Regions from separate parts of the Homo sapiens genome. Here regions 1 and 3 are each linked to region 2. The links are contacts of gene promoters, found by promoter capture Hi-C in blood cells and fetal thymus (Javierre and others, 2016). All regions are on one chromosome and are shown on one strand. The core of a region is centred on a gene start or on the middle of the fragment in contact, and the rest is flanking DNA. Distances in the headings are between cores, read along the strand shown.

The links. The method cuts DNA at HindIII sites, captures the fragments that hold promoters and counts their contacts. A CHiCAGO score of 5 or more calls a contact.
Region 1: a fragment that was not itself captured here is called in contact with the fragment with the promoter of OLIG2 in region 2 in 2 of 17 cell types (M0 macrophages and M1 macrophages); the score reaches 7.0 in M0 macrophages.
Region 3: a contact is called between a fragment that was not itself captured here and the fragment with the promoter of OLIG2 in region 2, in 3 of 17 cell types (M2 macrophages, M1 macrophages and naive CD4 T cells). The highest score is 6.3, in M2 macrophages.

What each region holds. Positions count from the first base shown.
Region 1 is chr21:33,196,429-33,199,473 of GRCh38, reverse strand. No RefSeq gene overlaps it. Among named protein-coding and RNA genes, the nearest start is that of LINC01548, 28 kb to the right of the region's middle. The HindIII fragment of the contact is 761 bases long and covers 1,011-1,771 here.
Region 2 is chr21:33,024,582-33,027,281 of GRCh38, reverse strand. OLIG2 (oligodendrocyte transcription factor 2) reads right to left here and starts at 1,347. Exons shown (of 2, transcript NM_005806.4): 1 at 1,256-1,347; 2 at 1-481. The coding sequence starts at 419. RefSeq lists an enhancer at 616-1,518. The HindIII fragment of the contact is 3,945 bases long and covers 1-2,700 here.
Region 3 is chr21:32,836,875-32,839,604 of GRCh38, reverse strand. No RefSeq gene overlaps it. Among named protein-coding and RNA genes, the nearest start is that of EPCIP, 25 kb to the right of the region's middle. The HindIII fragment of the contact is 1,145 bases long and covers 710-1,854 here.

The sequences.
Region 1 (3,045 bases), core at 142-2,641, 170 kb before region 2:
TGGAAAGAGCCCACAAACAAATATGCTCTTATAAGCAAAAAATCTCTTCCTGGTATGGTTCACGGCTCTCCAAGACATATTCCTTGTCAGTCGGATTCATGCTATTATCCTCACTCTCCTCCTGGCAGTCAGGTTGTGTTGCTGAAACTATAAACACCGCAAGTCTGGAGATAAGATTTGGTGAATTGCAGTTAGAATGTTGAATTTTCTATCACTTTCCGCCTTGTGTTATTGCTACAAAACCAAACCTATCTATCACGCAGCAAGCGCTAACCACAGCAGCCTCTGTGTTTCTACCCTAGTTTTTGATTCTCTATTGTCCTAGTCTCTTGCAGACTAGAAATTGTAAGAGGAGGCATGGTTAATTGAGGGTGGGGTAGAAAGAAGGAAAAGAGGAGGCTAGCAGGGTAGAAACATAGATGATATTGACACATTGAGAAGAGATTGCTAATCTACCATCGTCATTGCTGGGACTCGAGAAGGGCCTTACTGGGATCCAGCCAGGATTAGCTCAGCCACTGCTGCTGTGGTTAGGGTTTGCTACACGATACTCTTTTGAACACATGCCATGGGGACAGTTCTGCACTTCTGCTCCCGTCTGTGGTGTGACAAGGCCGGCTCTGTTCCCTTTTTCCTTCTCAGTCTTAGCTTTTGAGACGCCATGAAACTGACAGTACTGGTTCTGATTATGTGCAAAAACTGGATTCCAACTGCCAAGCATTTCTTTCTCAACTTCTGATTAGCTGCAACTTAGTAGTCATTCAACCTTGAATAAAACAATTTCACCTGAATATAAAAACACGTTTAAAATTAAGAAATTGCTTGCTTACACAATATATTATTCTTTCTTTTTCTGGCATCTTCCTTGCGGTTTAGATGTCATATCGTAACTTCTCCTTCCCCAAAGGGTCAATCCAACTCTAGTGTCTTGTTCCATGTGGGTCTTTTGTTCCTTCCACCCATAATCTAAAGGTCCCAAGGCACTTCCCCTATCCTCCCTCAGCCAAGCTTCATCCTTGGGCTCTGCCCTAGAGTAACTCAGCTGACATCTTAAATATGTCTGATCATGCTAGTTTGTATAATTCCTGTTTTCTGCATGCAGACTATGTGTTTTTCCTAACACACCAGCAAATATTTAGTAACTTTAAATTTATGTGCCAGTATTTTGCAAAGTGCAGTGGGGGGGTACAAAGAATTGAAAACCTGATCTCATCAACTGGAGTTGACTACACATATGTAGGTACGGGAAAGAGTAAGATATAGAGGGTACCACCTGTAGCTGGAGTACCTCCAGCACCGGGCGATGCTTCCCACTTCTCTCCTCTGTAATGCACAGGAAACATTATATTTCCAAATATGATGCATTCCCATGGGTAGCAGTTGCTCTGCCTCTTTCCCAACCAAGAAAGCCTATGGAATTTAGGGATTGTTGGGATGTGATCAAAGGGACAACCTTAAATATCCACTGTTTCTAAGAAGGATCCTTGTTTAGACACTTAGGAACAAATTAACTTATCCCCCTTATCCTGCCCAGCATCCATCAGTGGGTTAGGGAGGTATGGCAGAGGATGGCTGGCAAAGATAGGGCCATTTTCTGCATACAGATCACACTGCAGAGAAATAAACTGAGTTCCCTAGCGGCCTTTGCCTCTGCACTGCTGATTGCAGTTGGTGCCACACTGTGCCAAGTGATAAGCTCTTGAAAAGGAGCAGTTGCGTCGTGTCCTCAGAGGAGGACTGTGTGGAATGTTTGTGTCTGCATATTCAAGCTTGTTGCCAGATCTGCTGTTTCTGGGCCTCTCTCATTCTCAACTTCCTTGTGTTGAAAAATGAAGATATGAATTCCTCTCTCACAAGGGCTGTTGTGGAAATTCAATAAAAGTAATTTTGTGAGAGCTTTTAGCACGGTGCTGGCATTCAAGTGGTTGGTTGCTCAATAAATATTTGCTGGGTGAAAAAAATCTGATATTTACTTCAGAGTTCACTATGTCATTTTTCTTAATGAAAGTATATCCAAGTAGATATCTTGCTAAAATAAGAACAGCTGGAAACTATCTTAAGTGGAATTGCCTGAAGAAGAGGTGTGTCCATTTTCATTGTTTTGTAGAGTTTAGTTCATCCAGCATATCCCTCGCTTCCTTTCCTTCTTTATAGGGTTCCACAAGGAGCTTTGCTGTGGGCGAACTGTTAGCTGGAGCTGTGATAATTAGGCCAAGGTCATGCATCTGTCCCTTGTGGGCCAGTTAGCTCAGCTTGGCTCCATGTCCATACGCATTGATCTTAACCCAGCGGCAGACTCACAAGTGTGTGACCGCATCCCAGAGGACTGCGGGGGAAGGGTTTCTGTGGATCAGGGCAAATCGCTCCTGCCGGAGAAGCACCTTCACGGTCAGCTCTCTTATGGTTATTATGACCTGAAGGTGGCGCTGTTTCTCAAGGAAAACTGGCGTAGGGTCGCCGACAGTCTATTTTAAAGTGAGTGTGAAATGATAGAATGTCAGAGTTGGAGAGAATCTGCGAGGTAATCTTTGGATCGATTTCCTCACTTTCCAGCCAAGGAAACAGATCCAGAGGGATAAAACTCTTGTCAGAAGTCACACCACAGATTCCTGACAGAGGCATGGCTAGACACGGGCCTCCCAGGTCATAAACTTTTACAATTTTCACTGCACTAAGGGTTTCCTGATCCTAAATGGTATCAAGCAATTAATAATGCTTAAAAGAAAACTGAATGAATCATTGATAACTAACCTGGTGATATTGTCAATGAATTAAGTTACTGAATTTCAAATGTCTGTTATTTCTAATCACAGGTCAGATTCAAGTTGTTTTGGCTTTTACTACAAAAAGCATCTTTACATATATCTGCAATTTAATGGATAATTTATTTTCCCTTTCCATACATCTGAAAGAAGAAACATAATTGGTATGAACAGCACTTAATTCCAGACTGACTTCTTTTGAACTGTAGGTAAGCATTATTTGTTTGAATGATTACAATTGAGACAAAATGTGGGTTTTTAACAGCTGCTCACAGATTGCAGG
Region 2 (2,700 bases), core at 98-2,597:
CCGTGTGCGTACGGCATGACCTCGCGGAGGCCATCCATGGCGATGTTGAGGTCGTGCATGCGCTTGCGCTCGCGGCTGTTGATCTTGAGACGCAGCTGCTGCAGCTCCGGCTCTGTCATTTGCTTCTTGTCCTTCTTGGTGGACGACGCAGCCGCCGACGACGTAGACGACGAGGTGCTGGACGAGGATGACTTGAAGCCACTGCCTCCTAGCTTGTCCCCAGGATGCGCGCCCGCAGAGCCCATAGCGCCGCGCAGCTCGGCGCTCAGCTCCGGCGGGCAGTCACTCGGGGTGGACGAGGACACGGTGCCCCCAGTGAAGGCGCTGCCGCTGCTGCCCTTACTCCGGGCCGGCAGAAAAAGGTCATCGGGCTCTGGCGACGACGGGCGGCTGGACACCAGGCTGGCGTCCGAGTCCATGGCCCCAGGGGAAGATAGTCGTCGCAGCTTTCGCAGGGTCCTCCTTCCCTCGGACCCGAAAACTTCCAGGAGAGGAGGAGAAAAGAGAGAGAATGAGAGAGAGAGAGAGGGAGAGAGAGAGAGAGTGAGTCAGTGAGAGACAGAAAAGCTGCTCCCGCCTGCACCGCAGTACCACAGCGCGGGGTCCCGGCACAGGTGGCCCGTGGCTCCTCGTCCCCCTCGCTACTATCTCTGGCCCTCCTTTTAGCTGCACGCGGGTACCTATAATTAAGCTCTCTCTATCTCCCCTCTGCTCTCATGCAACAGGTTATTTCAGGGAGCGTTGGTGACCCTCGGGGTGCGGGTGGCATTCTAGAGGCTTCGGGCTTTCAGTTAGGTGTGGGAAAACTGAGCCCCCGGGCTGGAATAAACGAGTGGGAAGTGAGGGCCTTTCTTTGGGGAGAATGGAGATCTAGATAGAGAACTAATGATTTGGTTCCTCAAACGGATCCACCTTATCTCCATCGACACCACGCAGCAAACACACGCACACGCACATGCACCCAGAGCCGGCGCGGGGCCCAGAGTCCATGTGCTGCATCTGGAGACCACGGGGAGCTCACCAGCTGACTGGGGCTTGGGCAGAAAGAGCTGTTGTCGCTCCGACTTCTCGCTTTTGGTGAGGGAGATGCAGCGGTGAGTGTGGGGAGGACAGAAGAGCAAAGTCGCTCTGGAGAAATGGCCCGCAGAGTAGGGATCCAGACCCCCTGTATCGGAGCATTCTGGGTCACAGCCGAGTTGAGGAGAGTCTGTCCCTGGGATCTAGGCTGCGGCTGCTGTGGGGCGGGGACACTTACTCTGGATGCGATTTGAGGAGCTCGCTCCGAAAAGCCTCAGGGGAGAACCTGGCACCGGGCGCTGGTGTCGCGTCGATCTATAATAAGCATCCGCACCTTTAGGGGCTCGGCCGGTTTTTATAGCCCGGTGGCAGCGGCGACGGCGGCAGCGGTGGCGGGGGCGGGGGCGGGGAACAATGTGCGTGTCCTGGAGGGGCTGCCTCGCCAATGAGCTGGGCCCGCCGGGGGGCTGGGAAGCTGATGTCATCCGGGCTAATTCCGCTCAATGAAACTCGCCAGGCCGGGCACACGCCTCCTCCCTGCGCACAACCAATGGGCGCCCGTGGCCGGGAGATTCTTGGGGAGGGACTGGAGGAGGGACCCGAGGAGGCGAGGGGGAGGAGAAGGGCGGCTCAAGGGGGATGGAGGGAGGGCTGAGCGCGCTTGGGACCAAGGGAGAAAGGGAACGTGGTCAAATTTCTGTAAAAAATACGGCCACCACAGAGTCAGGTTGGGGGATGGGATGGTTTGGAGACTCTGCAGAGTCTAACAAACTAACCTGATGCCCCACGCAGCCGCACCTTTTGGGATGCGCGCGGAAAACCCTGGCGACCCAGGATCCGGGGCTGGGGTCTCCTCCCTAGCTCTTCCTCTGTCTGGTTTCCCGCCGCCTGTTCCCATCTCACTGGTTTCATCAACACGTGGGCATTTGGCGCCCCAAATGTAAACGATGCCCAGGCACAAAGTCCCCACTATCTTGGTGCTCTACTCGCGCGTCTAGGAGATGGCCGTGGCTGCAGCTCCGACGGCAGCCGGTAGCGCCCCCAGCTGGGGGCAGGGACTTGAGGGGTAGAGGGCGGGCAAGGAGGGAGGGGACGGACTCCAGAAGAGTGTTTTGAAAGAATTCACAACTCTCCTTTAGGTTGAGGATGGTGTGGGTACAGGGACGAGTTATTTCCGCACGGTAACCGCGCTAGCACAAGGGCAGGGTCGTGCCTGTAGTTAAACACCCCTCCATTTATTAGCAGGGGAGCCGGATGATAGTAAGTATTTTCAGTGTCGTCTTTGTGATCACCACACGCCTTGGGGCAGGGGCAACGCTGGCATCTGTAGTCCAAGCAGGGCTCCGCTGTAAAAGGTTAGCAAAGAGCCTTCCGTCCCAGTCGCCTGCTTTCTGGAACTGCAAAGAGAAGTTTCAGGCCTGGGCAAGGCTTCTCCACGCTGTGGGCCAGACAGCGAGATGGAACCACTCGCGACCGCGTTGGGACATGTTTTACCGATTGCAGGCTGGCTCTGAAACCTGAAAACTCTTGACGATGAGGAATTAAGCCCGAACTGGAGAAGCACCTCACGGAGGTAGCTGAGGTACGGATGCATTCACCCATTTTACAGATGGGAAAAGCCAGAGACCGTGTGCAGCAAGCCTACAGAAAAAATTGCTAAGCCTTTACAGAGCAGCCCTGCTT
Region 3 (2,730 bases), core at 33-2,532, 190 kb after region 2:
CTCATACAACTCCCTCATTTTTGGCCCAGAGAGGTCAAAGAGGCAGCACAGCAAAGAACTCAATGTCTTCTTAATAAATGATGAATAAATCTATTGTCTCGTCATGTGAGTAAAATCACCAGAGATTATTAAATGTAAACATGGTACGAGACAAGGACTGGCACCAGAGTGAGGTGATGTGGGATCTAATCCTGGCTCTGCCACTAAATGGGGACCTTGGGTAGGGGAGCTCTGACCTGCCAGGTACTATACACCGATTATTTCATTAATCTGAATTATACTCCTTTAAAGCAGGATTAATATGCCTGTTTAACAGATGGAAGAATGGGCTCAGAGAAATCAAGTAACTAGCCCAATATCATAGTAAGAGCTAAGATTCGAAGGTCAGTTACTCTGACACCAAAGCATATGTTGTTGCCAAAATAGCCCCTACACTGGTACAAAGCTGATGGCAAATCAGCTGCTTGTTGCTCCCATGAAGGACTCATCAGATGGGAACGGCAATTGGAAGAGATAATTTTTTTTCCATTTCTGCAATGCAATTAAGGATATAATAAAATCATCACAGAATGCCCAAATGATTGATAATTGAGAGACTAGTACCAAGTCTACTTCCAAGAAAGATTTAGATTAGCTAGTGCATGTATTTAACCTGAGCTCTCTTTTCTGTTTTTTAATAACAAACTCAGCATCTGATTGATTTTAAGCTTAAGTTCACCAGTTTCTCATATCCACCAAATCAGAAGATAAACTGTATGAGGATAAGAATTTTGTTCACTGCCATAACCCCGGGGCACTTATGCTTGCCATGTAGTAGGTTTGCAATCCATATCTGTTGGATGTAAGAATGAATGAACAAATGAAACAAATTCAAAATTCAACATAGGAATGTTAAGTAATCTTATTATGTATATATACATGTGATAATTTATTTAAAAGTTGATTGAGCACTCAATACAGGAGGTAGAAATAAGGGAAGTAAAGATTTATCTGCCATGCAAATATTAACCAAAAAATTATTGGATGGATAAACTATAAGGATCAAATTGATCTATATATTTTTAATTTTTATAGATTAGAGCTTTTTTAGACTAAAGGGGGTTAGTAGAAGGTTCCTGTGATGAAATAAAGAATCCTTTTAGCAAAATAATAATGATCATAAACTCATTTTTCTAAAACAGTTGAGGATTTGCTTCCAGTGAAGGACTCTTTTACGGTAACTTGAGTCTCACTTTCCTTTGTTTATGTGGTGACATACATGTAGGAAGCAAAAAGCTGAATGCTTTTCTCTTTTGTTTTTTTTTGAGACAGGGTCTCACTCTGTCACCCAGGCTGGAATGCAGTGGCACAATCATGGCTCACTGCAGCCTTGACCTGCCAGGGCTCAGGTTATCCTCCCATCTCAGCCCCCCAGGTAGCTGGGACTACAGGTGCGCCACCACACCTGGCTGATTTTCATATTTTTTCATAGAGGTGGGATTTTGCCATGTTGCCCAGGCTGGTCTTGAACTCAGCATATGTTATAAACATAATTTCTCTGATAGTAAGGATGATATATGTGGGCATTCAGTACTAGGGGTTTGGGGTTTATGGGTGAATGAAGTTTTATATCACTTACCATGCTCTATGCTCCTTAAACTAGCTAGTGCTTGAAAATGGTATTACCATACATATCTTCAAATATGTATATTTGACAGTGGAGAATAAAAAAGAATAAATCACATAGCTTTAAAAATGATGTCAAATACAGCTTCAGCCTTTAAAACACATTTTAGAGGAAAAAAATTAACTATTATATAGAGTTAATCAAAATAAAACAACTTCTTAGGTTTGATAGCAGATCAAAAGTAAGCTTAAAAGTAATATACAGTGTTTAACATTTATGTGTAAGTTTAGTGGTCTGAGAAATAACTTTCCAATTGTACGGCCACTCTGTATTAGACATGATATTAAGGTAATGATGGAATATGTTCTTTCTTTATGGATACAAGGGATCTATTACCATAAAGAATGAATTAAATCTGTTACTATATCAAGAAAAACAGTGCATAAAATACTAATGCTACAAGAAAATGTGTCTCAGCCGGGTTAACAGATGGGTGAAGTGTGAAGGCAGATAAACTCTGCTTCTTTTGGCTTAGTCTTTATATCTCCCTACAACTATAACTAATCCTCTTTATTTGAACAATTTCAAAGACTCTAATTTTACACACATGGCATGCATACAAGAGACACACTTTTAGTTCCTGCCAGCAGGTAATTAGAAGCAACAAAAAGGTATGTCTTGATGAAGAATTGCCTCACTGCCCAAGCCACCACTTCAGCTGATCCAACAGAAATTCATCCTGTTACAGACCACTGCTCAGAGGCAGAGAAGGTCTGGTTTGCAGAGGAAAAAAAAATCATCCAGCCAATCAGACTTGAAATTGATCAATTCATCCCATTATATTTATGTACAGAAAAAGCCTATTAATTTTTGTATAACTAACTTTATAACCAGGTACTTAGTCATATTATTTCTAACAGCTTTTCAATTGATTTATATGGATTTTAGAGATATATAATGATGTAATCTGCAAATAATTTTCCCCATATTTACAGCTTTTTTTCCTCTTATCTAATTGCACTGGCCAGTACTCCTAGAACAGTATTAAAAAAATAGTTTCCATGGTGACCAATATTGTCTTTAATAACGGAAAAAATGGTTTTAGCATTTTGCCATTTAGCATC